Regions from separate parts of the Homo sapiens genome. Here all the other regions are linked to region 1. Evidence: promoter capture Hi-C in 16 types of primary human blood cells and fetal thymus (Javierre and others, 2016). All regions are on one chromosome and are shown on one strand. Each heading gives the region's core, a stretch centred on a gene start or on the middle of the fragment in contact. The rest is flanking DNA. Distances are from core to core; before and after follow the strand shown. Region 1 holds the start of SLC6A18 (solute carrier family 6 member 18). Region 2 has its middle 26 kb from the start of MIR4277. Region 3 has its middle 13 kb from the start of MIR4277. Region 4 has its middle 32 kb from the start of MIR4277. Region 5 has its middle 58 kb from the start of MIR4277. Region 6 overlaps LOC107986397 (a long non-coding RNA gene). Region 7 overlaps TRIP13 (thyroid hormone receptor interactor 13).

The links. The method cuts DNA at HindIII sites, captures the fragments that hold promoters and counts their contacts. A CHiCAGO score of 5 or more calls a contact.
Region 2: a fragment that was not itself captured here is called in contact with the fragment with the promoter of SLC6A18 in region 1 in 1 of 17 cell types (monocytes); the score reaches 5.9 in monocytes.
Region 3: a contact is called between a fragment that was not itself captured here and the fragment with the promoter of SLC6A18 in region 1, in 1 of 17 cell types (monocytes). The highest score is 6.7, in monocytes.
Region 4: a fragment that was not itself captured here is called in contact with the fragment with the promoter of SLC6A18 in region 1 in 2 of 17 cell types (monocytes and naive B cells); the score reaches 7.7 in monocytes.
Region 5: a fragment that was not itself captured here is called in contact with the fragment with the promoter of SLC6A18 in region 1 in 14 of 17 cell types (M1 macrophages, M0 macrophages, non-activated CD4 T cells and 11 more); the score reaches 9.5 in M1 macrophages.
Region 6: a fragment that was not itself captured here is called in contact with the fragment with the promoter of SLC6A18 in region 1 in 1 of 17 cell types (total CD8 T cells); the score reaches 5.3 in total CD8 T cells.
Region 7: a fragment that was not itself captured here is called in contact with the fragment with the promoter of SLC6A18 in region 1 in 2 of 17 cell types (M1 macrophages and erythroblasts); the score reaches 5.6 in M1 macrophages.

The regions. Positions count from the first base shown.
Region 1 is chr5:1,223,517-1,226,902 of GRCh38, reverse strand. It overlaps SLC6A18 (solute carrier family 6 member 18), which reads right to left and starts at 1,522. Exons shown (of 12, transcript NM_182632.3): 1 at 1,266-1,522. The coding sequence starts at 1,425. It overlaps SLC6A19 (solute carrier family 6 member 19), which reads right to left. Exons shown (of 12, transcript NM_001003841.3): 12 at 1,792-3,386. RefSeq lists an enhancer at 586-1,128. The HindIII fragment of the contact is 4,471 bases long and covers 1-3,386 here.
Region 2 is chr5:1,733,110-1,736,495 of GRCh38, reverse strand. No RefSeq gene overlaps it. Among named protein-coding and RNA genes, the nearest start is that of MIR4277, 26 kb to the right of the region's middle. The HindIII fragment of the contact is 7,363 bases long and covers 1-3,386 here.
Region 3 is chr5:1,694,411-1,697,796 of GRCh38, reverse strand. No RefSeq gene overlaps it. Among named protein-coding and RNA genes, the nearest start is that of MIR4277, 13 kb to the left of the region's middle. The HindIII fragment of the contact is 471 bases long and covers 1,598-2,068 here.
Region 4 is chr5:1,674,698-1,678,083 of GRCh38, reverse strand. No RefSeq gene overlaps it. Among named protein-coding and RNA genes, the nearest start is that of MIR4277, 32 kb to the left of the region's middle. The HindIII fragment of the contact is 3,271 bases long and covers 1-3,128 here.
Region 5 is chr5:1,649,338-1,652,723 of GRCh38, reverse strand. No RefSeq gene overlaps it. Among named protein-coding and RNA genes, the nearest start is that of MIR4277, 58 kb to the left of the region's middle. The HindIII fragment of the contact is 4,657 bases long and covers 1-3,386 here.
Region 6 is chr5:1,553,365-1,556,750 of GRCh38, reverse strand. LOC107986397 (a long non-coding RNA gene) reads right to left here. Exons shown (of 2, transcript XR_007059102.1): 2 at 796-3,386. Among named protein-coding and RNA genes, the nearest start is that of LPCAT1, 31 kb to the right of the region's middle. The HindIII fragment of the contact is 946 bases long and covers 784-1,729 here.
Region 7 is chr5:900,380-903,765 of GRCh38, reverse strand. It overlaps TRIP13 (thyroid hormone receptor interactor 13), which reads right to left. Exons shown (of 13, transcript NM_004237.4): 4 at 3,217-3,272; 5 at 2,335-2,425. Among named protein-coding and RNA genes, the nearest start is that of TRIP13, 9.2 kb to the right of the region's middle. RefSeq lists a silencer at 378-672. The HindIII fragment of the contact is 227 bases long and covers 1,479-1,705 here.

The DNA of each region.
Region 1 (3,386 bases), core at 273-2,772:
CGTTGGTGGGTAAAGCGTTGGCCGGCATTTCCAGCTCTGCGTGAAGCCTGCTGCCCCCACAACCTTGCATGCTCTGGTGACTCTTAGCAGATCGAGCCGCAGCACAGGCAGCGAGGGCCCCGGGAGCCAGGGACGCCTCTGCCCTTGGGCTTTGGTGCTTTCAGAAATGCCTTCAAAGGGACTCTCATGATGAGAAGATCCAAGGCCCAATGCACCCTCTCCAGCCCCAAAGCCCCAAAGAGACCCCAGTGCCCCGAGGGTGGCAGTGACGGGTGTTTCTTTTTGTTTTTTCCATTTGTGCGCATTTCCTGCATTTTCTGCCTGTTGAGAATCTTTTCTTAAGCAGGAGGAAAAACACTTTAAAGGAGTAACCTTATAACAAGGGATAGTTGTGCGGGGCTCTCAGGGAAGGAGCTGAGGGCCCGGGGAACAGGCTGACCAAGCAGCCCGGCCTGGCCTGAGGAGGACCCTGCGGCCTGGGAAGCCCCTGCCCGTGTTGCCTGGGGAAGACCTGGGTGTCCATGCGTGATGTTGTACGTCGGCTCCCTGAGAGCAGTGATTCATGCCTGTCCCTACATCCTGTGTCGCCACATGGAGAGCAGAGTGTGACCCCTGCATGAAGAGAAGCAGGCACAGGGTGAGGGGAGGCTCGAGGTGCGTGGGAGCCTATTTCAGTCACCAATGCACTTCTGGGGGTGGTGAGTCCAAGGTCACTAAAGTCACCCAGACAGTTCTGAACATCCTGGCACCCCCCACAGGGCTCTCCCAGAGAACCAAAGCCAGGGAGGCGAGGGGTGGGCCCCCAAATTCCTGCAAAGAACCTCGGAGAAGGGCACCTGAGCACATGTCTGGACACACCAAGGCTGTGGTGAGGAAACCCAGAGCGGATTGTGTGTTCTTTAAAGAACTGACGACATTCAGATGGAAGAGCGCTCACTGTTTGTAGGGTGTGTGTGTCGGGCAGGGCGGCCCATTCAACCTGACGCCTGGCAGGAAGCTGCCCTGAGGTCCCGGAAGACCATAGTGGACCCCGAGGGGACTGGATCCTCCGTGCTGTGGGCAGTGGTGAAGCTGCCCTGAGGTCCCAGAAGACTGCAGGTGGGCCCTGAGGGGACTGACTCTGCCGTGGGCAATGGTGCACCCTGGTTTCCAGGAGGAGTGACTCTGCCCAAGCACTGGGGATGCGTGGCAGGCGCCTGGCAGGTCAGGGTGGAGACGGCCTCCCCTGCTTAGGGGTCTGCCCCAGGACGCAGGTGGGTGCTTACCTCCTCCATAGGTCTGGCACAGGTATGGGAACCGCCAAATGTTCCCCAGTCCCACGGCAAACCCAGTGCAGCTCAGGAGGTACTGGGCCTTGTTGTCCCACTTGGGCCTCTCATCCCCGAGGTCGCAGGCGGCCGGGTCCGGTTCTGGGGCATGAGCCATGGTGACTGAGTGCCCCAGGCTTCAGGGCAAGGGTGGTGCCTCACTCCACACCCAGCACTAGAGAGCCGTCTCCAGCCTCTGCCGACGTTTGGAAACCACAAGCAGCCCCACTGCAGTTGTATTTATTCATTTCTTTAAAGGAAAACCAGTGGAGTGCCGTTAATGGGTAACTCAGGTCCAGGCCCTGGCTCTGACGCCAGGGTCCTTCCCTGGCACCCACGTCCTCTGCTCCTTCTCGCATGCTCTGTGTTCCAGGCAAACGCCGGGCCTGGCACCACCCCCAGCACCATGAGGACCGTTTGCAAGGACAGCCTCAAGTTTTTTTGTTGCAGACACCAGGATTCCCAAGACTGAGGCATATTTTAATCGTTTTAAATTTCTTATGTTTTATTTAACCATTTGATCTTGAGATACTTATAGATTGTCACTCTGTCACTGTCAGAAACAACTCAGATCAGATCGCATGCACCCGAAGCCCGGATTCCCGCAGGGATCCTCTCAGCTGCTCTTGGGAGGCCGGGGGCTGCCCTCACACCCACTGCTGCCCTCGGGCCGCTGGGCAGGACAGGGTGACAGGCACCCACCGTGCGTGGGGGCAGAGGGCTGAGTCCTCTCCTGTGCTGGGGGCACCCCTGTCCATGGGTGGAGGGTTGATGAGTTGACGCCGGGTGAGTTCAGCTCTAAGGAGCTCCCCACAGTGCTCCCTGGACTCTGGGGCTCCTCCTTGCAGATGCTCCCGCCACGGACAGGCCAAGGGCCCCCAGGCCCGCAATTGCCCCATTCCACTGGACACTGCACCCCTCAACCGTGTGGCCACAACTCCAAATCCATGAGTCCCAGGGCAGGGGCCCAGGTGGACACATTTTTGGAAGGTTCTTATTTGAGTGAGAGGAAGTGTGAGGGAAGAAGATGAGAAGAGCTGGTTGGTCCCCATTGTGAGGCCACAGGCCTGGGCCATGGCCTCTTCGGAGCAAGCCCCCAAAGCCAGACCCCCCAGGAGGAGGCAGGAGCTGGACCTGCCGTCCCCACCATCCCGTCTGAGGTCACTGGCTCACTCATCCCTCTACGTCTGGACAACAGTAACTTCTAGGGTGAGCATACTCAATAGAAGGGATTTATTTAGAAATGTACACTTTATGCCCATAAAGCCTGCATTTCTACCACATTTACAGAGACATTGAAACCTATGAAACAACGCATGAATCAGGAGATGTAGATGAGATGGGAGCTCCCGCCCAGGGTCCTATGGCAGGCACACCAGGGTACACCAATGGATGCCAGGGCACATCAGTGCACACCTGTGCATGCCAGGGTACACCAATGCACACCTGTGCACGCCTGGCAGGGCCTCCTGGGCAGATGCCACAGGGCAGCATATTAATGGGGCACTGATGGAAATTTTCTCGATCCAGGGCCAAAGAGCAGGAAAAGATGAGGTGAGACCCTGTTGAAGCCATCAGCAGGCGAGCCCCTCGGTGGCATCACAGCCGGGGGCAGAGGCTGTGATATGTCCCCCCACCTCTGCTGCTGTGGAGTCTTGCGCATCCCAGGGCCCAGTGACAGTCAGCAGGGTGAAAGGGGCTGGTAGGGGACTCAGTGTGTGCAGTCACTGCTGGATGGGGTGCTGGAAGGGACGATTGTGACCAGGTTTCTGTGGGTGGAACATCATACTGGCACACACCAGGCTTTCAGTCCTGCCTGTAGGAATTCTCAGAACATCAGTTTAATGTAAGCGTCCAGATTCTTCTATGGAAAGCAGAGGTGACCTGTCCGTAGGAACTCTCAGAACACCAGTTTAATGTAAGCATCCAGATTCTTCCATGCAAAGCGGAGGTGACCTGTCCGTAGGAACTCTCAGAACACCAGTTTAATGTAAGCATCCAGATTCTTCCGTGCAAAGCGGAGGTGACCTGTCCGTGGAAGCAGATGTCCCAAGTGCCGACTGCCTTTGGCTGCGATGG
Region 2 (3,386 bases), core at 426-2,925, 510 kb before region 1:
ACTGAATAGCAGCTCAAATGAAAATTAATTTACGCAGATGCATAGGATGTGCAAGGCATCTGATTTGACTTCTCTCTTTTTGTGTGAGACTCAGAAGCCCAGGGAGGGGCCTGGTCGGGTCACAGAGTCAGCATGGGCACCACCAGGACCAGGACCTACAATTGCTTTCCTGCCCCAGGGACCAACTGTGCATTGACCGCAGCTCATGACAAGGAGACTGGGGGAAGCCGGGTGGCTGCAGGGCTGCTCACCCCTCCTTCATACCCACCAGCTCCAGAGTTGTCTATCAGGACCCTGACCTTCTTAAAAGTGGTTTTAAGATGTCAGCTATATGTTCCCAAGGAAGCCTGGTGTATCCCCCTCTACACAGCCTCATCCCAGGGTAAGTATTCCATGGCAAGGCTGACCAGGACTCAGAGAAAAGCTCTCCATGCACCAAGCCTTTGTCTCTGATCAATCGTGATTTGAATAGGGTTGCCAGGCATAGCAGAAACACACCGACAAGAACAATGACAAAAGACAGGACTCCAGCTTAAATGTGAAATTCAGATAAACAACAAATCATGTAGTGCTTTAAGTATGTCCTAAATGCTGCATGGATGTACTTATCTTTGCATAGCAATCCTTGCATCACAGCTGGTTTTGCCCTTGCTTTGACCAATGGAGCACCCTGGGAGGGACTTCATGTCAGGGCAGAGCCTGGCCTCAGGGGGCCTTGGAATTGCTGCCCCTTGTCCTGGAGCCCTCCCCAGAAGCCACCAGAATGAGTGGATGAGACTGCCTGGGGGTGAGACCTTGGACCAGCCACATCAGCTGCTTGTTCCAGCCCAGGTTCCAACCCACAGAGAACTCAGCCACAGCCACATGGTCACATGGTCATGGGGAGGTGGGCAGAACTCCCTGTTGAGCCCAGGCACCCCTGCTGCTGACCACAGAGTTGTGAGCTAAGGACATGGCTGCCATCTGCCATCTGAAGGTGCTGCCCCTGGGGACATCTGTTAGGCAGGAGTGAACGGCGGGCACTGCGCTGCTGCCTTGTTCTGTGCCTCCCTGTATGGATGCTCTCCGCCTGGCTCAGCTCCGACTCCCCAGTGCCAGGGTGAGTGTAACGCGCAGCATGCTGCCCGAAACATCTCCGGCACCTATGAGCCCACCTGCCCAAACACACAGGAGTGCAGGGCTAAGGAAGGTTGTGCTCAGCCTGCCAGCTGCTTATATGGTGAACCAAACCTTAGAGCTGTTAGGCTGGAGGATGCCCTGGTAAACGTCACAACGTGGGCAGCATGGGACCAGCTTCTTCCTGTCCCTCCCTGGGCCCCCCATCTCTAAGAGCTGCCGGTGCCTTCCTGCTGGTGTCTTTGTGCAGGACTCCCTGGCTGTGGGATCCTCTTATCAAGGACGGGATGCGGGCGCATCCTCTGGAGTTAATCACAGGCTGGGAATCTGCACTCCCACAGCAAACATCACATCGCCAGCCTCTTGGGGCTGCAGGGCTGAGCCTCCCCCGGGATGGATTTCCCTCCCTTTGCTATTAAATTGAGTTTAAGACTGCAGTTGTCTGAACGGGTTTGCCTGAGAGGGCCCAGCCCACAGCTAGAGCTTCAGCCCGAGGATCCCGATCGGGTCCCATGTCTGCTGAGCTTCGCTGGACGCAGGTGCTCATGACACCCAGGGCAGGGTCCCCATCCACCCACCTCACTCATCCCTGCCGGCTGCAACCTTTCTCCCTGATGCCACGGCCAGCACAGTCCCTGAGTCAGCAAGACCTGGCACGGCATGACGGGGAACCCTGAGAGCTGGGCCCTTTCCCTTCCCCCGCCCCCACCAGAACCACAGGGCGTTGTGGCCAGCCTCTGGCTGCAGGTTTGCAGATGGGGGCTTGCAAGGACTGTATCCCTTTCGGGTGAGGGCCAGGCAGCCCAGCCGGCCCCAGACAGGTCTCTTGCCTGTTGAAGGAGGCCAGCAGGTCCGGACAAACCCCCAAAGCCAGGGCTCTGCCACCTCCTGATTATGGGAATGATGAACCTCCAGGAACCCCCGCCCCCGAGTCCCCACCCCAGAGGGACTGTCCCTGGCTAATGACAGGGCTCACCCCAACCCTCTGGCAGCACCTCCTGGGCCCCACCCCATCACACCAGCCCCAGCCCACACCCTTCTCTTGCCCACACTCCTGGGGTCCCTGCCTGCCCCGCAGCCAGGACAGCAGATGGCGGCAGGGCCTCCCAGCCATGGTTAAGAGCATCGTCTCGGCCAGGCACGGTGGCTCACACCTGTAATTCCAGCACTTTGGGAGGCCAAGGTGGGCGGATCGCCTGAGCTCAGGAGTTCACGACTAGCCTCAGCAACACGGTGAAATCCTGTCTCTACTAAAATACAAAAAATTAACCAGGTGTGGCAGTGTGTGCCTGTAGTCCGAGCTACTCGGGAGGCTGAGGCAGGAGGATCGCTTGAACCCAGGAGGCAGAGGTTGCAGTGAGCTGAGATCGCGCCACTGCACTCCAGCCTGGCAACAGAGCAAGACTCCATCTCAAAAAAAAAAAAAAAAAAATCATCTCTCAGGAACGCATGGCTTGGTGAGAGCTCCATGTCTCAGCCATGCCCCCAACACAGGGTCAAATCCTGCTAATCCACCCCACACGCCACACCCTCTGCAGTAACACCCTGGTCCTCAGGAAGCCCCATTCATGGAGGGCACATCTGTGGAATTCCCCAACCAGGTCCTAGTGGGAGGAGGAAGATGAGGGAGCTCAGTCCCAGGAGAGCCTGAGGCTCCCCCAGCAGTGATGCCTGAGGCTTGGAAGTGGTGGAGAGTGGGGAGGGGTCACTCCAGGGGCGCAGGGGCCCTCTGCAGAGAGTGCCTTGGGTGAGACTTCCTGAGCAGAAGGGATGGTGGCTATGCTGGGCGGACCGGGCAGGCTGCTGAGGGGCCCCTGAGGGCAGGGAGGAGATGGCTAAGAGGGCGGCAGTGAGGGTAAGGGAGGTGAGGGCGAGAGGGTGGGATCCAGGGCCCTGGGGGTCAGGGAGGAGAGGGCAAGCGGGTGGGGGTCAGGGACCTGGGAGGTGGGAAGGAGAGGGTGGCCCCACCATGGGTCAAGGCCGTGAGGGTGGAGAAGGGAGGGCAGAGTGGGAGTCAAGGCCATGGGGGGTGGGGAGGGGAGGGTGGTGAGGCCAGGGGTCAGGGCCATGGGACCAGTGCCCGAGGCAAGGAACCTGGATTTGTCCTGAGAGCCATGGGTGCCCCTGCAGAGCCCAGCGAGGGAGTGGTGAGTCCTGCCTGGGTTTCCCACCATCCCTCCGGCTGCTGCAGGATGAGATGGGCAGGTAGCGGCAGGAGGTGAGGGGCAGTGGACTCTCTGGGAATGAAGGCTGGGAGGGGTGCTCAGCTG
Region 3 (3,386 bases), core at 584-3,083, 470 kb before region 1:
TTCAAGTCAGGAGATAAAGTGGCTGCATTAAAAGTCAGACTGGAATTATGGGTCAATGAGTGAACACTGGGACTTCTGACATGTTTCAAACATTAGCGGAGGTTTTGTTTGGAAAGAGACTGAGCCAGGGCCTTCTTTCCCCCAGCTGGTGCATGATCACCTTTCAGCTTCCAAAAGAGCTTGAGCATTACTTCCCAACTACAAAAGAACCCCGAACTGGGAAGGAATGGATCCGTGACCCATTTGTGAATAAGCCAGGTGAATCGACTTTGTCCTTGCTAGAAGAGGGTCGGCTGCTTGAGATCACAAATAATGGTGGCCTTACAAGTGTGTTTGAGACAACTTCAAATCTCCATATGTTCTGGACTAAAGTCAAGGTGGAATATCCTGAGATTGCCACAAACGCACTGAAAAACCTGCTTCCATGCCCAACATCCTGTCTTTGTGAAGCAGAGTTTTCTGCAGTGACAGCAACCAAAACGAGATTACAGAGTACACCGGACATAAGCAACACACTTTGGGGGTGACTGTCTCCATCACTCCCAGATGGGACCATCGAGTTGCAGGAAAACAAGCTCAGGGCTCCCACTGATTATACGTGATAGTGAGCTGTATAATTATTTCAGTATATAATACAATGTAATAATTACTAGGTTGGTTCAAAAGTAATTGCGGTTTTTGCCATTAAAAGTAATCTCTGGTGCCAAAAAATGTTGGGGACTGCTGCTTTAAATCATGCAGGTGGAATAAAGATGTGGTTATTTAAAAAGTTGAGAAAATTTATCTGCAACATACTTGCCTTACAAGGCATACTAAAGCCACATTTTTCAGCTCAAGGAAAATGTTCATGGGGGAAAGGATGAAAGGAATGAAGAGCACCACAAAGGATAACTGTTAGGGGCAGTGTGAGTGTATGGATTGTTTAAAGTGATCTTCTGGTGTTTGCAACGAACACAGAAGTAAAATATATGACTACAATGGCATTAAAGGAAATGCGAGCGGGGGCACGACAGACCACTCATAAGATCCTTCAACTGCTTGGGAAGTGATAAAAGTATTCGTTTCAGGTAGGTGTTTTGTTTTGTTTTGTTTTTTGTTTTTTTTCCCCCCACAGGGTCTCGCTCTGTCACCCAGGCTGCAGTGCAGTGGCACAATCATGGCTCACTGCAGCCAAAACCTCCCAGGCTCAGGTGATTCTCCTTCTCAGTCGTCTGAGTAGCTGGGACTACAGGTGCCCACCACTATGCTTGGCTTATTTTTCTTAACATCTTTTGTAGAGAACAGGGTCTTACTTTGTTGCCCAGGCTGCTCTCAAATTCCTGGGCTCAGGCAATCCTCCTGCCTTTGCCTCCCAAAGTGCTGGAATTACAGGCGTCAGCCACTGTGCCTGGCCTAAGGTAGGTTTTTATACTTCAACTATGCAAATAATAAACTATAGGGAAATAAAAAATATATAACTATAGTGCCAATAAAGTGGGGATAAATAAAGTAAAGAAGACACATGGAATAAACAGAAAATAAATTATAAGATTTTAGAATGACCATTCAACTATGAATATAAGTAAATTTAAAGGACTAACTTCATTATGACCAAGCTTGCCATATTGGTTTTTAAAAAGTAAAGAAAAAAAAATCCCACCACATTTGTAAGATGATGTTCTGAGTGAGTTTCCAATTTTCAGTCTTTACTGGGGTCAGGTCAAAGTCATCACCATGCCAGACAGATAAAACTTTCATAGAAAATAGTGTTACTGGCACAAAGAATCAGGGACAGAGATTGTGGAGACCTCAGCAGATGGAATTTGGCAGGATGAATTCTGAAAAACAGAGAACTACAGAGATTGATACCTGAGTTCTGTGTGTTAGACCTTTCCAAATCTCCAGCTGAGCTCTGAAACTGTGATTACAGTAAATGTAAAGAAACTGAAAATGAAAGAAATAAGCAGAGATTTCAGCTGTTTGCCATTATTATAAGGAAAGTGTTTGGAGTTTACATTCAGGCAAATTAACTGCCTCTAAAAACAGATAAAATAGCAACAGTATTCCAAAGAACAAAAAGAATCAAGCTTTTACAATGTTTAACAATAATATCCTGCTATAATCCCTAAAATTTGTAGATATTATATTTTTCTAAAAAAGGAAAACCAGAAAAATGTGACCCACAATAAAGAGTAAAGGCAGGGCCAGGCGCAGTGGCTCACGCCTGTAATCCCAGCACTTTGGGAGGCCGAGGCGGGCGGATCACGAGGTCAGGAGATTGAGACCATCCTGGCTAACACAGTGAAACCCCGTCTCTACTAAAAATACAAAAAATTAGCCGGGCGTGGTGGCGGGCGCCTGTAGTCCCAGCTACTCGGGAGGCTGAGGCAGGAGAATGGTGTGAACCCAGGAGGCGGAGCTTGCAGTGAGCCGAGATTGCGCCACTGCAGTCCAGCCTGGGCCACAGAGTGAGACTCCATCTCAAAGAAAAAAAAAGAGTAAAGGCAAATGACAGAGGCCAACTCCAAGATAACTCAGGTGTTGGAGTTACTACACAAGAATGTTAAGGCAGAAATGATAACAATAACACTCAAGGGCATAAAGAATGAATGAATATTTGAAATGAATGAACAAATAGTAAATGTCATCAGAAAAATTAAGAGAACCAAATATAAATTACTTAAAATGTATAAAATATAAAAGAACTATATGAAATTCTATAACTGAAAAATATAATATCTGAAATGGAAAATGCAACATGTACACTTAGCAGCAGAATAGGGATGATACAGGAGCCAGTAAACTTGGAAGATACATTAACAGAAATCATCTAATCTTAGGGAGAAGAAGAAAAAAACTGAAAGACATCAATGCAGTCTCAGAGACCTGAGAGATACCATCAAAGGGTCTAATAGTGAAATGTGAGTCACAGGTGTACAGGAACAAATGGGGGAGAAAAACATTTTTGAAAAGTAGAGGACACATTTTCTCACTTTAGTAGAAGACATGAGATTAAAGAATCAAGAGGCCGGGCGCGGTGGCTCACGCCTATAATCCCAGCACTCTGGGAGGCCGAGGCGGGCGGATCACAAGGTCAGGAGATCGAGACCATCCTGGCTAACACGGTGAAACCCCATGTCTATTTAAAATACAAAAAATTAGCTGGGCGTGGTGGCGGGCCCCCGTAGTCCCAGCTACTCAGGAGACTGAGGCCCAAGAATGGCATGAACCCAGGAGGCGGAGCTTGCAGTGAGCTGAGATTGCGCCACTGCACTCCAGCCTGGGCGACAGAGTGAGACTCCATCTCAAAAAAATAAATAAATAAATAAAAAAGAATCAAGAAACCCAAGTGAACCCAAAGCAGGATTGACAGAAAGAAAAGTATCCCAAGCACATTAGGGTCTAAA
Region 4 (3,386 bases), core at 244-2,743, 450 kb before region 1:
TTTGTTTAAAAGTGGACAAAGTATCTGAATAGACATTTCTCAAAGGAAAACACACAAATGGCCAATGGGTATGTGAAAAAATTCTCAACATCACTAATCATCAGGGAAATGCACACCAAAACCACCATGAGATATCATTGTATCCCCGTTAGAATGGTTATTATCAAAAAGACAAAAGATGACTGCGCATGGTGGCTCATGCCTGTAATCCCAGCACTTTGGGAGGCTGAGGTGAGCAGATCACATGAGGTCAGTAGTTTGAGACCAGCCTGACCAACATGGTGAAACACTGTCTTTACTAAAAATACAAAAATTAGCTGGGCTTGGTGACACACTCCTGTAATCCCAGCTACTCAGGAGGCTGAAGCAAGAGAATCGCTTGAATCCGGGAGGTGGAGGTTGCAGTGAGCCAAGATCATGCCACTGCATTTCAGCCTGGGCAACAGAGTGAGACCCTGTCTCAAAAAAGAAAAAAAAAAAAGACAAAAGATAGCAAATGCTGGTGAGGATGTTGAGAAAAGGGAACTCACACACTGTTGATAAGAATGTAAATTAGTGCAGCCACCCTACTACTGGGTATTTATCCAAAGGAAAGAAAATCAGTATATGAAAGGGATATCTGCACCCCTATGTTTACTGCAGCAGCAACACTATTCACAATAGCAAAGATATGGAATTACACCAAGTATCTATTAGCAGATGAATGGATAAAGAAAAGGTGGTATATACACACAATGGAATACTATTCCACCATAAAAAATGAAATCCTGCCATTCATGGCAACATGGATAGAACTGGAGGTCACTGTGTTTAGTGAAATAAGCCAGACAGAAAGGAATATTACATGTTCTCACCCATATGTGGGAGCTGAAACAGTGGCTCTCATGGAGATTGACAGCGGAATGATAGTCACCAAGGCTGGGAAAGATTGGCAGGGTGAATGAAGAGTGGGAGGTTAATGAGCACAAAAACACACAGTCAGAAGAAATAAGTTCTAGTGTCTGATAGCACAGTGGGGTGACTATAGTTAACACAATATGTTGCATTTTTCAAAATAGCTAGAAGAGAAGATTTAAAATGTTCCCAATTCAAAGAAATGATAAATGTTTGACGTGATGGATATTCTGAACCCTGACTTGATCATTACATATTCTATGCATGCATCAAAATAGCACATGCCCCATAAACAGGTATTAATATCATGCATCAATTAAAAACATTTTTTTAAATCAGCATTTCAGGTTGGAATTCCATTGTCTTCTGTCTTACATTGTTTTTGATGGGAAGTCAGTCATTATTTCTGTCTTTGTTATTCTGTATGTAATATGTTTGCCTACCCTGGACTACCTCTAAGATTATTATTTTTATAATTCATTGTCAGTAATTTGATTAAAATGGGCCTTGGTGTGATTTTCTTTGTTCTTTGAGTTTCTTTATCCATGGGTATATATCTTCTCCAAATCCAGAGAAATTTCAGGCATTATTTCTTCAAATATTTTCTGCTCTCTCCCTTTTTCTTGTATTCTCACTACACACGTTAGGCCTCTTGATATTAGCCCACAAGCCAAAGAAAATCTGATCTTTTTTCAGCCTTTTAAAAAAGTTTTGTTCCTTCTGTTTGGATGATTTCTATTGATCAGTCTTCAAGTTCATGTTTCTTCTGCAGTTTCTAGTCTGCTCTTAAGCCCATTAGGTAACTTTTTATTTCATATAGAAGGTCTCTAACTCATGGTGGTTTAACTTGATTTTTGAACATTACGATGGTGTAAAAATGGTATATAATCAGTAGAAACCGGACTTTGAGTGCTTAAGCAACCCTTCTCTTTTTTGGCTTTTAGTACAGTATTCAATAAATTACATGAGATATTCAAGACTTTATTATAAACTAGGCTTTGTGCTAGATGATTTTAGGCTAATGTAAGTGCTCTGAACACATTTAAGGTAGGCTAGGCTAAGCTATTATATTTGGTGGTTAGGTGTATTTACTGCATTTTTTATTTACAATATTTTCAACTTACAATGAAGTGGCATCTGTATTTGTTTTTCACCTCTGTAATATTATTTCTTTATATTTATATTAGTATTATTTATACTTATTGTAAAGAAATAGTATTTTGTTTTTCATCTCTGTAATACTATTTCTTCATATAGTTTTTTTCCTGTTCATTATGTGCAATTTTCCTTAAGTTCTTGGATCTACTTCTATTTTATTTTTGAGACAGAGTTTCGCTCTTGTTGTCCAGGCTGGAGTGCAATGGCACAATCTCGGCTCACCACAACCTCTGCCTCCCAGGTTTAAGTGATCCTCCTGCCTCAGCCTCCTGAATAGCCGGGATTATAGGCATGCACCACCATGCCTGGGTAATTTTGTATTTTTAGTAGAGACAGGGTTTCTCCATGTTGGTCAGGCTGGTCTCGAACTCCCAACCTCAGGTGATTGCCCACCTCGGCCTCCCAAAGTGTTGGGATTACAGGCATGAGGCACCGCGCCCAGCCTCTTGGACCTATTTCTAACTGCTATTTTCAATTTCTTATCTGCTATTTTAATCATCTTTGTCATTTCTGGATCTTTTTCTCCATGGACTGGGTCAAGTTTCCCTGATCTTTTGCATGCCTAATAATTTTTATCGGGTGATGTGCATTGTGACTATTACGCTGCTGAGTGGCTGCATCTCACTGCCTTCCTTTAGTACACGTTGAGGACATTTCCCCCAGAAGGAAGTGAATTTCCTCGTGGTCCAGGTGCTTTCTTTGAAGGTTGATTTAGGCTTTATAGAGTTGGAGATAGATTAGCCTTCACCCTAGATCTGGTTTGGCCCTGATACTAAGGTATGCCTTTTCTGGGATCTTTACTAAAAGTCCTAGGCATTCAACAAAGTATTTCTACCCTGCCTGGTCAGAACTTGAATTTGTCCCAGCCCTGTGCCACCTCTGATAGTTGTTCCTTGTCCCACCTTAGCAACATTTCTTTGTCAACAGAAATAGCAAAGGTGGTGGAATTAGCAGGGAAGCACTTTTAAAAAGCTCTTATGAATATGTTCAAGGATTCAAAGCAAACTGAACACGATTAATCTTTATTTTTGCTGATTCCTATTTAGGATTTTCTCAGACTTTGTTGTTTTAAAGCTTCATTTTGATGTGTCTAAGGATGGATTTCCTCTTGTCTAAATGTTTCTTGCGATAATTGGGATTCTTAAATGTCTGTATTGGTGTCTCTAAAAATTTCTGCACATCATTTCTTCACATGTTTTATCTGCCTCGTTTTCTCTTAGCCCTTCTTTCATTAGACAAATCTGTTATTTCCTAAATCCTCCTGGGAAAGTTACCTCTTCTTCTATAGTGTCCTTTTAAAATATTTCTGTTTGGGGAATATTTTTAGCTGATTT
Region 5 (3,386 bases), core at 345-2,844, 430 kb before region 1:
GGCCCCCCACACTGGGTGTGACATAGGGTGGCCCCTGGGAGCACTTGGCTGCTGTCCTGCACAGGGCACCTGGGAGACCCACAGCATCCTCCCTGCACCCGGCCCTCGCCCCACCTCACAGCATCCTGCGAGGCTGGCCAGATCCCATGGCCACACGGCCAGATCATGGATTTCCAAGCCCTGGCTCTCTCCTACATCCTGTTACACTCATGTGGTCCCTGGAGTGGGTTAGGGACAGCATGGCCAGCCTGGCCCTCTGGAGAAGCACGGAACTGTGGTGGGAGCAGGCAGAGGGACAGGCCGCCATGGATTGTTCCAGGACCCCCCATGGCGAGGGACCCCATTCTCCCTGAGAATTTATCTGTTCTTGTCCCACTCTCAGGCTCCTCCTAAGAATGGGCCCTGCCCTTCCCTTGCCCAGCACCTCCCCCACAGCCTCTGCTTGTGCACCCACCCTGCCCCACATTCGGGGGCCTGAGGAGCCCTCACCTTGAGACCCCTCCTCTCGAAAGGTCCCTGACCACCCACCCACTCCAGGCACCCCCTTCTTCCCCAGGGAACTTCCACCCTGTCTGGGCCATTGCTCCAGACCCTCCATCCCCTCATCAACCTTCGGGGCAGGAGATCAAAGAAAAACCAGGCTGCCTTGTTCTCAGCAGGAGCTCAGCAGGAGCCCAGGGCCTGGCAGAGGCTCTTCGGGTCACAGGATGAGCCAAGGAAGGGAAGAGTGACACTGTCCCAGGCCCCGAGGACCCAGGCCCCATGCCCCCATAGGCCCTGCCCCACAGGCCGGTCCTCCCCCAGCCCCACCCCTCCCCAGACCTCATCCCTCCCCAGCCTTACCCTCCCCAGCCCTGACATCTCCAGGCCACCCCTCCCCAGGCATCATCCCTCCCCAGCCTTGCCCTACCCCTGCCCTGCCCTCTGTGGCCCCCCCCTCCCCAGCCCCACCTTCCCCAGGCCTCACCCCTCCCCAGGCCTCATCCCTCCCCCAGCCCCACCCCTCCCCAGCCCTACCTTCTTCCAGCCCCACCTTCCCCAGGCCTCACCCCTCCCCATCCCCCACTCTTCCCAGGCCCTACCCTCCCCAGGCCTCACCCCTCCCCATCCCCCACTCTTCCCAGGCCCTACCCTCCCCAGGCCTCACCCCTCCCCAGGCCTCATCCCTCCCCAGCCCCGCCCTCCCCTGACCCCACTCTCCCCAGCCCCACCCTTTTCTGGCCCTGCCCTCCCCAGGACCCACCCCAGCCCTCACGGTGCGTCTGTCCAGCGAAGCTGTCTGGATCCCATGGCTGCACTGCCAGGTGGTGAGCTTCCAAGCCCTGGGCTCCCAGGACTCTGTCACTTTAGGGATCCCCTCCCACCCACCTCCAAACTCCTCATACCCCCCACCACCCTCACCCGAAGCCCCTGCTTCCCCACACCCGGGATGAACACCCAGTAATTAAGATGTTCAAGTATTTTCTTTCTTTCCATTTCTTTCTATTTACACACCTTCAAATTAAAATTGGAATAAAGTCGTCTGTATAACTTAATGCTCTCACTTAGCACGACCCTCTCATGAGTGTTTTCTCATGTTACTGGAAGTTCTTCAGCAGCACTGTCTACCTGTAGCGGCTGCCGAACACGACAGGATTTGCATTTGCCAGAATCGATTGAACTACTTCCATGAGGTTGGAAAGACGGACATTTAGGCCCTTTATTTCTTTATTTTATTTTTACCAACATTTTCTAAATGCTGCAAAATGAACACCTGGACCGTTTTGTTGTTTACTTGTTTACTCCTCCACATAGATCAGGGGTCTGCAAACGTGCTCTGCAGACAGCTAGAGAGTCAGTATTGTGCTGGGGGCGGGGACGGGGAAGATGGTCTCCACCGCACACTCTTCCTTATTCGCTAATCGTTTTCACAGTAACGGACCATTCCGAGCTCTTGGCCGTGCAGCAACAGGCCACAGAGCGGATTTTGACCACTTGCCAGTTTATCACCCTAAAGGCAGCATTGCTAGGTCAGCCACATTGGAAGGCTTCTGGTGCATATTACCAAACCCCTCTCCAGAACAAAATTATGCTGATACTTTTGCTACTAGTATCTGAAAACGCATATTCCTCTGAATATTTGCCAACATTGACTATTACTATTTTTAAGCAAATTGCTAAATTCATCGTTAAAACTCAAATTGCATCTTCCTGGGTTGTTGTGATTCTATTTCCACATCTAACTTCATTCGATTGCGCCTTCCTTCTTCCCGTAAGACCTCTAGACACTGAGGACATCAGATGTCAAAACCGTCACAGCGTGCTTCCGGTTTTTGTTGGATTTTGTTTGTTTTGTTATGGTGTTTTTTGAAGTGTCACAGGGTTTAATGTCTTTGTAATCAAATCTAAAATTTTTTGAAAAGTGTTTATTGATACATAATAATTGTACATATTTACAGGGCAGTTGTGATATTTTGATTGTGCACACAGCATGTAGTGATCAAATCAGGGTATGTAGTATATCCATCACTTGGAACATCTACTCTTTCTTTCTGTTGGGAAGATTCCAGTTCTTCTAGCTATTTTGAAATATACAGCGGACCAGGTGCAGTGGCTCACACCTGTAATCCCAGCGCTTTAGGAGGCCAAGGCAGGTGGATCACCTGAGGTCAGGAGTTCGAGACCAGCCTGGCCAACATGGCAAAACCCTGTCTCTACTGAAAACACAAAAATTAGCCAGGCATGGTGGCACACACCTGTAATCCCAGCTACTCGGGAGGCTGACAGGAGAATCGTTTGAACCCAGGAGGCGGAGGTTGCAGTGAGCCGAGATCATGCCTCCACTGCACTCCAGCCTGGAGTGAGACTCTGTCAAAAAGAAATAAAGAAAGTAAGAAAGAGAGAAAGAGAGAGAGAGAGAAAGAAAAAGAAAGAGAGAGAGAGAGAGAAAGAGAGAAAGAAAGAGAAAGAAGGAAAAGAAAGAGAGAAAGAGAGAGAGAGAAAGAAAGAAGGGAGGGAGGAAGGGAAGGAAGGAAGGAAGGAAGAAAGGAAGGAAGGAAACAGTAAATGATTGTTGCCTTTGGTCTGTGAACTGTTCTATGGAACATTGGAACTTACTCCTTCCCCTGACTGCATGTTTGTGCCCCGTAACCAGCCTCACTTTCTGTCTGCCTCTCACCCACACACCCTGCCCAGCCTCTGGGAACCACCAGCCAACTCTCTGCCTCTGTGAGAGCCACTCTTTCAGTGCCCACAAATGAGTGAGAACATGGTACATTTGTCTTTCTACCCCGGCTTACTTCCCTTAACATGACAGCCTTCAATTCCATCCATGTTGTTGCAGACGACATGATTTCATTCTTGTGTATGGCTGCAGAGTATTCCATCGCGAATAGATATCACGTGTT
Region 6 (3,386 bases), core at 7-2,506, 330 kb before region 1:
GCACCGTTCCCTCTGCCGCCGCCGCCATGCGAAGCCCTCCTCACCCTGTAGCCCCACCAGGAGGGAAGCTCCGTCCCTCAGCAGCCAGCACTCCCATGGGGATTCCTGCAGGAGAAACCTGAGGGTAAGGGGCGAGGCGAGCAGGATAGGGCAGGACCAGGCGTCAGGAGGGGGTCCCTGTCAGCCAGTGACCCGCACCCCACTGCTGGCCCTGGGGAGGCCAGGGTGGCCATGGCACCCGCCACTGTCAGTCATTGGCTCTGGGCCACCCACAGTCTGTGCTCGTGACCTCCCAGGCATCTCCCAAAGAGGTACACAGCCTCCTCAACTCGGCAAAGGGGTACAGGCCCAGACAGGGCATCTGGGAGGCACGGCAGCACCTCCACAAGCCCTGTGGACAACGGTGGGCCCCATCTGGCACCGCCCACTCTGCACATGGCACTCAGGAGGCGCTCGGGGCACCTGTGTTCATGGAGCACAGAGCAAAATGGCACTTGCGCGCACGTGGGATTCATGCCCCAGCCCGCTGTCCTCAGCCAATGGGCAGCAAGCTGGAGATACACTCCTTCCTGGAGGCCTCGGGCCAGGGGCTCTGTCGCCAGGCTCTAGATCAGCACTGACCCCTTCCTGGATCATGACCCGGACATGGGGTGGACCTAGGGCCTCGGCTGGGGTTGGAGAGATGATAAGGGAGGCTGTGGCCTGCAAGGTGAGGCCCGCAGGGCTCAGCATTGATCTGGCCTCCCCTCAGATTGCTCCAGTGGCCTCTCTCAGCCTCAAGCTTCTCATCAGTAAAATGGTGCAGAAAACAGGGCTTCATGTCCTGGAGGGTGTGAATTCACCAGGGCCCTAAATCACCCAGACCCCTACTGTGTCCTTGCAGGGACATGGCACTCCTGCGTTTGCTTCATTCCATTAAAGAGAAAAAACACAGACACAGCCACTGGTTGTAGAGCTCGTGGTAAACAACCCACCGCCGGCGCCCCGCTCCACAGCCACCCCACAGCTGCCGTTCTGACGCGCGGCCGCCACTGTGCAGCTCTTTCTGCTGGACGTGGCATCTTCGCCTCCTCCGACATCTAAGAATCCTGGGCCAGCCCTGTGGTTCACCACAAGGAATGCCGTACATTGGGCAACTATGAGCCAGGAAACCACACTCAGAGGAGCTGGACACGGGACATCAAGGGCACTGCTGGCAGTTGAATGGTGTTTGCAGAGGGAGGCAGGGAGACGAGGGCAACCTTGACCCAAGCTCTTGCTCGGATAAACACTTAAGCAACGTTGTCAGGAAGGAATCCATGACTCGATGGTTCAGCAAATATTAGCTCAGCAGGTGGCATTCAGCTGCTGGGGGCAGAGACAGCATTGCATGCAGACACGGCTCCACTCAAGTTGGCCCGCCCTCGTGTGTGAGGAGGGCGCCCGGCCAGCCAGCACCCACCCTGGAGGCTCCCTTGGCAGGTGCAGTCCACCTGGCCCAGCTGCAGACAAGACCCGTGGCTTGGAGGTTCTGGGTGTGTCTCTGTCTCTGTGGGCTGAGGGACATCGTGGAGCCCATCCTCAGCCCCATGGGAGCCTGAGACACTCCCTCCTCACTGCTCACACCAGACCAGGTTCAGAAAGAGACATGAGGCACTGTGCGTTTTGCAGAGTCCACAGGATGAACACAAGGGTTTGGATCCCAGACGTGCCAAATGCCTAAAGGGTGCACTCATTAAAAAACAAAGCTTTGAAGCTGAGGATCATTTCTGCAATGTGGAATAATCCTTGTTTTTAGAAAAGTCAGTTTTCAATTCAATCTGTCTCATAATTGAAAATCTTTATGTAGTGAAGTATCTTGAAGTAAAACAAGCTGCTAACAAGCCACCATCACAACTTAATGAGCGCAGCACAGGGGCACTTCCCGGCACGCGCCTGCCCTCGGCCACACGGCTGGTTTCCACCAGGCTCCCCACATGTTGCCTTCAGGCTGAGCCTCGGAGGCACCCATGTTGGCCGTAGCCTTGTAGAACAGTTAAAATTCATAAATGCACTGGAGTTTTGGGGGACCAAGCCGCTCACCTTGCAGAGAAGGAAGATGAGGTGCTGAACACCCAATGCCTTGATCAAGGACATGCAGTGGCCCCAAACCAGGACCTGTCCCTTGCCCTCGGCTGCCCTGTGCCCTGGTCAGGTGTGGTCAGGCCTGTGGAGTTTCTGTTTGGTAAAGACCTTGCATCAGGCATGTCACCTCCAAGATGTCCCTCCCTTTTACCCTGCCTCTCATTACCAAGCTCAGACACAACTTTACCTGCTTCCAGACACCCAATTAAAACCCATCCACACGTAAAACCTCTTGGGCCATGAGGAGCAGGGTTACACCTGGGGGCACTGGATGTGGGGCATGGCTCTTCCTGTGCCCTGGGCCCCAGGTGCCCCCACAAAGCCCTTGGCTGCCCTTGGGTCCACCCCTCCTCACCCCCAGCACAGCAGTTTCCGGCACTGAGACTTGCGCTCTCACCTGCTGAGACTTTCGGAGCGTTCGTTTGAGCAGCACCTGTGGCCAGTAAGATCCTCGCGTTGAAAGGCCTCCCAGCCTCTGGAGGCCTCCTGGGAGCCGCTGTCCTCATAGGATGTGTCCCCCAGGGGGAAAGGCTCCCCACCCTGCCAGTTCCTCCACCAGCGGGACCAGCAGCACCCATCTGGTCCTCAGCCCGCTGGGCTTCAGATCCCTGCCAGCCCACAGGATTCTCCCAACACCCTGCCCCAAGCCCCACAGAGCCAGGGTCCCCTCACCCTGTGGGCGGCCACTGCAAAGCCATGCAGCCCCTGAGAGCCCACCCTGTCCCCGAGTGGAGTGGGCCGCCTTCCACCCGCACATCAGCACCTGTGACCGTGGCCTGCTGTCACTCTCAGCTGTCCAGGGTTGGGTGCTGGGCACTCAGGCATCTGGTGCCATTGAGGGCAGCGGGTCCCCCTCACCAATAGGGTAGAGAGGAAGGAGGTGATCAGAATAGCCCCTGTGGCTCAGCAGGCCCAGCTTGCAGGCCCACCAGAGCCTTGCAGGACCCCACTTCCCCCATCAATGGGCTGCAGAGGAAACTGCAGGGCTGGGCTTTTCTATCAGAGGACCATCCGGACATCTCAGATTACAGAGCCACAAAGACGGGGAGCTGGCGGGGCAACTCCCCAAAATCCAAAGGAGTGGGGGGCTCTAAGTCACGGCGGCTCTAAGTGGTGAGGGCTCTAGTGGTGGGAGCTCTAAGACTTGGGGTCTCCAAGTCGTGGGGGCTCTAAGTAGTGGGGGCTCTAGTGGTGGGGGCTCTAAGCCGTGGGGTCTCCAAGTCGTGGGGGCTCTAGTGGTGGGGGCTGTAAGTCGTGGGGGTCCTCAGGACCCTCTTTGGCAG
Region 7 (3,386 bases), core at 343-2,842, 320 kb after region 1:
CACCTTTCAGAGATCAAACACACCTTTCTTGATAAATGGAGGTGGAGGGGTCATGTGTTATTCCTGTTGCCCCCAGAACCACCCTCTTTCCTAAGACAATTCTCAGTGGGCTCATACCCCATACTAGAAGAGGCAGAGGCCAGCACTCTTCTTGCACGCCTGCCTGCCAAGCGTCCCCTAGCATGATGTGGGCGGCAAGCCACCCAGGTGCCGAGGCAAGAGACCGAGGGCACGAGCTGTTCCAGTATAATAAAATAAATAAAATAAGAATAATTATACTAGATATAGATCTTAGATATGATTATATATGAATATTAATCATTAATTTGTAGCAATTACTCTTTATTCCAATATTATAATAATCCTTGCTCTACAATCATAACCTAGGAAAAACCAGGCCATACAGAGATAGGAGCTGAGGGGACATAGTGAGAAGTGACTAGAAGACAAGAGTGCGAGCCTTCTGTTATGCCTGGACAGGGCCACCAGAGGGCTCCTTGGTCTAGCAGTAATGCCAGCGTCTGGGAAGAAGCCCGCTGCCAAGCTGACCGTGGTCTAATGGTAGCGTCAGTGTCAAGGAAAAACACCTGCTACTTAGCAGACCGGGAAAGGGAGTCTCCCTTTCCCCCGGGGAGTTTAGAGAAGACTCTACCCCTCCACCTCTTGTGGAGGGCCTGACATTAGTCAGACCCGCCCGCAGTCATCCAGAGGCCTGTCTCCCTGTGATGCTGTGCTTCAGTGGTCATGCTCCTAGTCCGCCTTCATGTTCCATCCTGTACACCTGGCTCTGCCTTTTAGCTAGCAGTAGCAAATTAGTGAAAGTACTAAAAGTCTCTGATATGCAGAAATAATGGTGTAAGCCGTCTCTCTGTTTCTCTTCTCTCTCTCTGCCTCAGCTGCCAGGCAGGGAAGGGTCCCCTGTCCAGTGGACACGTGACCCACGTGACCTTACCTATCAGTGGAGATGGCTCACACTCCTTACCCTGCCCCTTTGTCTTGTATCCAATATATATCAGCGCAGCCTGGCATTCGGGGCCACTACCGGTCTCCGCGTCTTGGTGGTAGTGGTCCCCCAGGCCCAGCTGTCTTTTATCTCTTTGTCTTGTGTCTTTATTTCTACACTCTCTCGTCTTTGCACATGGGGAGAAAACTCACCAACCCTGTGGGGCTGGACCCTACAAAAGATGCCTCACAGAAGCTGCGAGGTGACCAATATGGAAAAAGGAAAGCATCTAACAGAAAATGGAGACATACAACTCTAATTTTCTGCAGGTATTTTCAAGAATTAAAGAGGAAATACGTAACTGGTTCCAAACAGAAACAACTTATTTCACTAATTAAAACACCTGCTGCTTACTCTGACTGTGCTATGAGGGCAGTATGCGGGGCCTGTCTGCTCTTTAAAAGAACATTGTGTTTTAAGGTCACTTTGTCACGCAATCTTAACTGACTTAAAGAAGCCAAGTACCCTTCAAGCTTCTATTTAACACTTGGCTACAGTTTCATACTCTCGAGTCCACTCAATTCCCGTGTCCCCATTCTACCCGGTGATATTGACAACAAAACAAAACAAAACCAAACAACAAACCATCAGTATTTTCTCCTGAGAAGAACCAGACAGAATTTCTTTAAAATATGGCTTTTTCAGTTTACTCCTCACAAAGTAAAGCTCTGAGTACTACAAGCCTAATTTATAAGTTAAGCTTTATCATAGGAATGTCTGTAGGAAAAAATAGTCTACATAAGGTTTAGTATTATCCACGTTTGGGGCATCTGAGGATGTCTTGGAATGTGGCCCCCCACAGGAAGACTTGATTAAGTGCCGAGTAATCAATGCCCCAGGGGCCGCGCGCGGTGGCTCAAGCCTGTAATCCCAGCACTTTGGGAGGCTGAGGCGGGCGGATCACCTGAGGTCAGGAGTTTGAGACCAGCCTGGTCAACGTGGTGAAACCCCGTCTCTACTAAAAATACAAAACTTAGCTGGGTGTGGTGGCGCATGCCTGTAATCCCAGCTACTCGGGAGGCTGAGGTAGGAGAGTTGCTGGAACCTGGGAGGAACCCAGGAAGTGGAGGTTGCAGTGAGCCGAGATCGGGCCACTGCACTCCAGCCTGGTCGACAGCGAGACTCTGTCTCAAAAACAAAAACAAACAAACAAACAAAAAATGTCCCAAGTGTCATGAGCTGGATCTGCTTCACAGAGAGGGGACATTCTAGGACAGCTGTGGCTCCTTCAGAAAACAAAGAGCCGTAACTCCTTGCAGAAGGACGAAGGTACAAGTAAAGGCTAAATTTCATGCCACTTATCTGGTCAAATAAAAGCCTGCATAATTTACCGTGGAGCAGCACCACCCGGTTCCAGGTGATGAGGTTGCTGTTGACGTTCTTGTCTGAAAACAGTAAAGTTGTCATCACATAATCGAGGAGCTGATAGAGAAAAAGAAAAGAGCTTGACAAAGATACCAACAAGGCAAAGGTCCCCAAGAAATGTGCCCTCCCCCAGGGCTTAATCCTACATGAGAAGAGGGAGCACAGGGAGCGAGGCCGCCTCCTAAGAGATCATCACCTCCAAACGCTTTCATTTCAGAAGAGAAGGTGCTTCCAAAAGGGAAAAGGAAAAACACTGGCTATTACTATTATAAATATAAGAAGAGCAACAAAATGATCACTTTTATTTAAAGTGCCAACATTAAACAAAACCACTAAGGGGTTTGTTTATCAAGTAATGAGTAAGCTCCTTCCCTAGAATGATACAGCAGTTATTATTCGCAAAATAACAACAGCCACAATGCAGAGGAGCAGTCTGAGTGATAGTCTCAGACTATCAATGCAGAGGACAGCTGAGTGATAGTCTTCTAGCCAGCTGCTGGCATGGGAAAGACCCTTCCCGTTGAAGAGGGTGCAGGGGTTAAGACACACCGGCCTTTCCTTTGTGCGGACCAGGCTTGCTCACCTTCCCTCCTCCCATCTCCAGAGGGTTTAATTCTCTAAGTTGCCTTCACGTTCTCCCTTTCCCTCTTCTCCCTCAGGGAGCTCCTCAGAGACCAGCTCTACTCTGGAGCAATACTAGAGGATAGATGTCCAGGACAAGGGCTGCCAGCAGACAGGGGCTCCCAAAAACCCATCTGCATCAAGTTGCTCAGGGGTGTTGGAGAGCAAAACAGTAATGGTTCCTCTTCAAATAACAGGGCATTCTGGGAAAAGGCACAGCAACTTACATGGGATTTGACTTCCACATCGTATACCAAGCTGTCCCAAAGCCCATGGAATTCAGCTGTGACAGAATTAAACAAAGACCTGATTTCAGGAAGGCAAGCAATTACAGCCACCCCCAGTCAGTCTCCCCTGAGCCTAAGCCTGAGCTTCCCATTGTGCTGCTCCAGGCAAG